Regions from separate parts of the Homo sapiens genome. Here region 1 is linked to region 2. Evidence: promoter capture Hi-C in human tissues and cell types (Jung and others, 2019). All regions are on one chromosome and are shown on one strand. Each heading gives the region's core, a stretch centred on a gene start or on the middle of the fragment in contact. The rest is flanking DNA. Distances are from core to core; before and after follow the strand shown. Region 1 holds the start of LINC02988 (long intergenic non-protein coding RNA 2988). Region 2 holds the start of MTMR11 (myotubularin related protein 11).

Region 1 (3,407 bases), core at 14-2,513, 230 kb before region 2:
CTACTTGCCTTTCTATGAGTTACTTTTCCTCATATTAAGTCCTTATGAAAGCCGCCTTATGTCCATGGTTTCTGTAGCTGCACCAGCCTCTACACTTCTGATAGTTCAGGAGGAGTTGGGAATCTGTATTCTCCAATTGCTCCCCAACCTTAATGCACTTAACAAGTGTGTTCTCCACACTTTTTAACCCTCCAAAACCCCGTTTTTAAACTGGTCCTGCTAATTTTTGCATTCTCCCCATCCTTGCTTCCAACCCCAGGGTTGGGGTGAGGTTGGGGTGGGCCATGTACAAGACTTTCTGGCTCTATCTCTCATTTCCTGAGCAGAGCTGGGCTGCACTAATTGACCTCGAGGGTCTCAGCTGTTCTAAGTGGGGTGTTTGTTAGCTCTTGTTAGGCTTGTAATTAGTGCAAGGAATCTAGGTCAGAGGCAACGGGTTGGAGTGATGGTCTCCTGGGGCACGACTAAAGGTGGGGAATAGCAAACAGCCTCCTCATTCTGTGGGTGGGACTTGTGTCACACAGAGACAAATAGACACAGGGTCACATGCAGAAAGGCGGTCAAACTCTGCTGTGTGTGCATGAGTATGTGCATGAGTATGAGTGTGTGTGTGTGTTCGCTCCTGCATTTACTCGGGTTTCTTTCCAACCTCTCCATATATGGCGTGGCTCTAGAGCAGGCTGGGGATTGGCTGCTCCTGTTGGGAGACAGGGAGGTAGTAAGAAAGCAGAAAGAGAAAGGAACCCAGCGTAGAGAAGGGAGTGACGAAGTGGGGGGTGGGGGCAGTAGCTGAGCTTGAGGGTTGCAGAAGTGGGCTGGGACTGCTTGCCTGTGAGGTTTAGATAGAAGAGAGATTCTTAGAGACTCATTTCCTGGGAGAATGAGGCAAATTTATTACTGGCAGAGGGGTTGGGAGAGCGGCTGGGGAAGGAGGCGAGAGCTGTTTCCCCAGGGACAGAGCTCTAGGCTCAGAACCGCATAGTATGTGAGGACCAGGGCAGGAGTTAGAGAAATTTGCACCTTTCTTTTCTCCCTGGTAAACCTATGCTGTGGAGATAGAAGGAAATCAACTCATCAGCGTTCCAGGCCAACACCCCAGACATTCTTCCTAATGGAGGGAGCCGGGACTGCAGTTCCTTTATCCCTCCTCAGGCCCCTGGCTAACAACCTGATGGGGAAGGACAGGAAAAGTTGAGGAAAGTGTCACTGAAATGAGAATTAAGATTTCGTTCTTTACCTGCCTCTACCCCTCACCCCCTCTCAACTCTGTGTCCTGGGTTCCACCCCTTACCCCGTCTCCCCATCCTAGGGCCTCCGGAGGGCACTTCCCTTTGCTTCATCTGTGTAAGAAAAGAAGGGAGCAGAGCGGTTGGGAGTGGAAAGGGAGGGAGAATAAGTGCACCCTGAAAGTGTCTGGGGGCAGCTGTGTGCTGAGAAAGTTGCCCCACACAGCTACTGAGCCAGCCCATTTGCCACGCATCACAGTTACCGGGGGCACGGAAGGGAAATATTGCAGGCAGAGGGGCTAAAATGATGAAGTGAGGGAGGAGAAGCACTGGGAGGAAGGGAAATGAACGTAAGCACCTTCCCATCCTCCTGTCACAGTGCCCAGGTTCAATACAAATGCTTCAACAGAACTCATGCCAGCAGCCTACCACAAGGGTGCACCTTAAGCGATTTTTCTAGTGGGAAGCCTGGTTCCATGCTAAGCTCTAAAGTTCTTGAAGACCAGGGACCATGCTTTCATCCCTTCTGGCTCTCTCCTCTGAAGAGAGAGGTCCAGCACAGCCTGTGGCCTGGATCTAGCTAAGTGACAGTGACCCCACCCCGGTGGCCTCATTCACACAGTGCTCCTTCCAACTGAGCTAGCGGCTCACTGCCCAGAGTCAAACCAGTAACAGTAGCTGCAGTGGTCACTTTCTGACTGACAGGCATTTTCCATATTGTCCTCACCCATCCAATAGCTCTGCAGCTTGCAGATGAAAAAAACTGATACTCGGAAAGCATGTGCCTTGCCCAGAGCCTCATAATCAAGAAGTAACAGAGTTAGAATTTGAATCCAGATCCATCTGGTTTCAAAGCTGGGCTCATTTCACCACCCTAGGGCCTGGATGTTCCAGTAACTGCTGGAGAACTGGAAGCTGTTGGTTTTAGAGCCTGAAGCCCAGGAGCACAGTGCCCAGCTCCTCTCTTACTGTTGTGAGGTCCCCGATCTTTCTTTTCTGCTTCTTTCACCTGTCATTCTCCTCTCTAGTGTCTCCCTCCATCTTCTGGCTCCCCTGGGAGCCACAGATAATTGACATGTTGGGATACACATGTCATTTGTGCTTTTGTCTTTTTTCATTATGTGGGAGCAACAAGGAAGAAAAAAAGAAAAGGAAAAATGCTGGTAAAATACAAAGATAGAGACTTGTAAAAAGAAAGCATAATTCTACCTTAGACTTCAATACTTGTGACAATGGATGGCTCTGCTGACCATGCTTAGGGCTGTGGAGAGTGCAGCTATTTGAAGGACAGGAAGTCTGGAAGCCTGGGTTCTCACCTCATACCCCAAGAGACCATAGAATGACATGAAGGTGGCACTCTTGCACACTTTCCCTCACTCAACTGGGATACACATTCTTCAAGGAAGAGGCTAGGTAACTACAGTCTAGAGCTGGGGACAATCTCCATGACAGAGTGGCAAGGGACTAGAGAGAGCAAGAATTCCTCTGCCCTAGGGATGGTTTAACAGCAGTGATAAGGTCCAGAGAAGAGCTGTGAAGGAAAGAGATGATTTCTGGAAAGGGGACAGAGGCCCCCATTTTGCTTACATGGGTTGTAGGAGTGACGTTAGAGCAGAAGAATGCGGACTGAAGAATCTGTTTCTCCCACAGGTTTTTCCCCCGCTTCCTCCTATCCCATCTTCCTATAACATCGGGGCAGCGTCATGGCCAGGTCTACATGTAACTTGGCCCCGTTTCCTCCCCCTCCTCCCCTTACCTCTAGTGAAGCCCCGCTGCTCTTGGAGGATCAAGCAGCTAGCAAGGCACACTTCAATGTGGCTTTTAACCCCTCATTTACTTGATTCATGAGACTCTGTCCCCTTCTTTCCCAAAATCAAATTATTCCCTTCATAGCTCTTCTGGGGACCTCACCGTTACTAAACCTCATCTCACACACTTCCAAGGAAAGAGTGAACAGTGAGTTGTGTGGGACCTACCACAGACAAGAATGTTGGGAAGCCTGGCAACTTCAGAGGTGGCTGGGAGGGTGGTGGCGTGGGCATCCAGATGCTTTTCTAAAGTGGGGACTTGCTTAGTGATGGAAGAGGTTTGAGGAAGGAGAGGGGGAGGCTACAGGAAACCTCAGCATGGCTGAAAGAGGAACTTGGACAGATGTTTGGTTTTCCCCTTCATCCTACCCAG
Region 2 (3,451 bases), core at 941-3,440:
GTGTGTGGGGTGGTGAGAGGCAGCCTTAACCCTCAGCTCCTGCCCACTCCATTCCTGGTTAAGTATTGATCCAAATCGCCCAATTCTTTTCTCCTCCTGATTTCCCCCCACCCCGCTTTTTTTTTTTTTTTTTTTTGAGACAGAGTTTCGCTCTTGTCGCCCAGGATGGAGTGCAATGGCGCGATCCCGGCTCACTGCAACCTTCGTCTCCTGGGTTCAAGCGATTCTCCTGCCTCAGGCTCCCGAGTAGCTGGGATTACAGGAGCCTACCACCATGCCTGGCTTAATTTTTTTTTTTTTTTTTTTTTTTAGTTAGAGTCGGGGGTTTCGCCATGTTGGCCAGGCTGGTCTTGAATTCCTAACCTCAGGTGATCCGTGATCCACCCACCTCAGCCTTCCAAAGTGCTGGGATTACAGGCATGAGCCACCACACCCCTACCCCCCGATTTTTTTTCTCCGTGTTCCTCCACTGTCTCCACACCTCAAAGTGCTAAAGAATAGAATGAGGCTCTTGAATGAAGGATGGTGGTGAGAAGGAAAGTGGATAATGGGATTTAAAAGTTATGGTACACACCTCTTCCTATGTCTTTTTTTTTTTTTTTTTTTTTGCGATGGAGTCTTGCTCTGTTGCCCAGGCTGGAGCGTAGTCATTAGATCTTGGCTCACTGCAACCTCTGCTTCCTGGGTTCAAGCGATTCTCCTGCCTCAGCCTCCCAAGTAGCTGGGATTATAGGTGTGAGCCACCACGCCTGGCTAATTTTTGTATTTTCAGTAGAGATGGGGCTTCATCATGTTGGCCAGGTGGTCCTGAACTCCTGACCTCAAGTAATCTGCCTGCCTTGGCCTTCCAAAATGCTTGGGATTACAGGCGTGAGCCACTGCGCCTGGTCCCTATTTTCTTTTTACAACAGACCTTGGGAAATATTTTCTTCCCCCAAGAGGTTGAGGCCCATGGAATGCATTAGGGGCAGGTGGGGTGGTGGTGCTCTGTAGCCTTTAGGACTTCTAGAATCAGGCTTCTGGGCCACCTTCTTAGCAGGTGTATACCTCTTTGTTCCAGACTGACTTTCTGTCTCACAATATCTTCACTATTTCCACAGTTGCAGCCAAGACAGGAAACTGAAAGCTGAGGCCAGAAGGGTGGTGTACTGGGGGGAGGGGAAAATTGAGTGTCACTTTGGAAAACTGGGGCCCCCATCTAAGGATTGCTGCCTCTGTAGATTCAAAAGCAATAAAACAGCAGCTCATTAACTCTTATTTTGTATTTTATTTTCTGTCTTTTTCATGTCTAAATAAAGATTTTTGCTTTGCTGTCCCCAAGTCCCCCTCCTTTAAAGGAGCTGCAGCTCCTTCTCTCCTTGTTCCCAGCTTTCCTTACCCATCTTTGCTTCTAGGGTTGCAGATGGGAGGGACGGGGGATGGACTGCTGAGCTGAAGAGAGGTTTCCAGCCCTCACCTGTGAAAGTCCTGAACATGAATCATTCATTTGGAGATCTGGTGTCTGGGTTGGAGGGGTGGAGTCACATACGGGAATGGGCACTTATTGCCTATTGGTTGTGTATCTACGTGATGGGCAAGATTAACTGGTAAGATCTTTTTGTCCCACCCACATCCCCAAGACTTGCACACAAACTGTACTTGTGTCTGCATCTTGGACACATTTCCATCTCTTTTTATACTTCTCCACTGCAGTCTTCACATGATGTCTGTGTCATGCCCTCTAGAGAAAGATATGCAAAACCACTTTAACCAGTTTCCCTGCTTCCTCACCTAATTCTTGGGCCTCTGCTGACAAAAATCCCCCCAGGTCTAATTTTCATTTTCTTCTGGAAGAGGCGGCAAGGAGGCTTGAACCACTTTCACATTCCTACCCCTCTCCCCGCCCCAAACCCCTTTGAGAAGACAAAAGAACGGAGCTTTTAAGGGAAGTCATCACTGAGACACTCCAGACAGGTAGCCCAGATGATTCCAGCTTCATAATCAATAGAACTGCTCCCCTCAAACGGTCTCCAGTACTCATGAACAGGAAGAGAACAGGGTCTGGGATTGGGGTAAAGAAGGGAGTCGTTTTTCTCTCAGTCCCCATTTCTTCCCCACCCGTCCGTCTCAGACTCCACCGTTTCCTCTCCACTTTTCCAGAATTGTGTGTATTCTCCTTTAAGGGGTTGGGCATCTCTCCCGCCCTCTCCAGAGTCGACTGAAGTTTCCGAGGAGACTTCTCAGGCTGGGCTGGACACACCTTTCCAAGGACCCCCAAACTCTGCTCCGTGCACGTCAAATGCTCCTTTCCCTTGTGTCCAACCCCCTACCCCTCTCCCTAACACCCCTCTTCTCAACAAGACTCAGCCTCTCCCCGAGGTGGGTGAGCATCCTTGAGGTTTCCCACCCTTAACTGCTGTGTCCCCGGATGGAGCCAGAGAAATGTGGTGGGGGGGCCGGGGCCAGAGTTTCAACATTGCCCCCCAGAAGGAGGAGCCAGAGATGGGGGTAAGGAGAAGGAATTTGGGGGGTGTCGGCAAGAGGGTGAGAACGGGGATGAGGTGGAGATAAAAGGGGGAAGCAAAGGCTCTAGAGGAGGAGGAGGAGGGTGTGTCTGTCTATCAGCTTCTGCTGATGGAGCCTGGTCCGTCTTTCTCAGTCTCAAGTTCGTTGTCTCATTATCCATTAACCAGCCCCTCCCTTTACTGTTTACCAGCCCTGTTAGGTCTGGAGCTCCCCACAGACACTGATCTCAGTTTCCCCCGAGAGTGTGAGTGTAGGCCTCTACAGGCAGCTGCCTCTGGGGAGTTGGGGAGCCTAGGGGTTAACTCTAGACCCCCCTCAACCCTCTGGACCAAAGTCTGTCCAGGAAAATAGGATGCCGGAGCCCAGGAGTCGTCAGCCTAGCAGTTGCCTGGCCTCCAGATGCCTCCCAGGTAATAATGCCCTATCACTCTCCAAAGACTTCCAAATTTCATCCTACGCCAATCTTGTTTCATGCCCTCACCAAAGATACCCCTGTGTTCCTCTCGTGGCTCGAAGTACGTCTGCCTGAGGCTCGCTGTCCTCCCTGACAGCCTCTAGAGCTGGCTGAGAGCTGGACCTTGACATTCCTTCTGTTTCCTTGACCCTGTTACCCCTTTTCAAATTTACTTATTCGATACATAGTTAGTGCCTGCTATGTGCCAGGCCTTGTTCTAGGCTCTGTTCTAGTTACAGAAATTAAAAAACATTTATCTTTCCTCATAAGCTTACATTGTAGTGGGCTTTGGGGAGGATTTTAATCTTCCCTATTTAGATCTCCCTTTCTTGGAGGGGTGGGTGTATCCAAGTGTGGGCAACACTGGGAACAGTCATAACAGGGCTTCCCTTCTTCCCCTTTAGGGGAGCAGATCCTAGCATGGGCCCCAGGGGTGAGGAAGGGCCTGGAACCAGAATTGTCTGGAACCCTGATCTGTACCAACTTTAGGGT

What was found. Contacts are between HindIII fragments. The study calls those that stand out against the background at their distance.
Region 1: a contact is called between a fragment that was not itself captured here and the fragment with the promoter of MTMR11 in region 2, in 1 of the 25 tissues and cell types used here (bladder).

Annotation. Positions count from the first base shown.
Region 1 is chr1:150,160,606-150,164,012 of GRCh38, reverse strand. LINC02988 (long intergenic non-protein coding RNA 2988) reads right to left here and starts at 3,285. Exons shown (of 4, transcript NR_135098.1): 1 at 3,203-3,285. RefSeq lists enhancers at 678-867, 3,216-3,407 and silencers at 1,878-1,947, 2,536-2,605. The HindIII fragment of the contact is 7,641 bases long and covers 1-3,407 here.
Region 2 is chr1:149,935,618-149,939,068 of GRCh38, reverse strand. It overlaps MTMR11 (myotubularin related protein 11), which reads left to right and starts at 2,190. Exons shown (of 17, transcript NM_001145862.2): 1 at 2,190-2,487; 2 at 2,840-2,915; 3 at 3,364-3,451. The coding sequence starts at 2,422. It overlaps OTUD7B (OTU deubiquitinase 7B), which reads left to right. Exons shown (of 12, transcript NM_020205.4): 12 at 1-1,257. RefSeq lists enhancers at 1-32, 2,400-2,924. The HindIII fragment of the contact is 18,071 bases long and covers 1-3,451 here.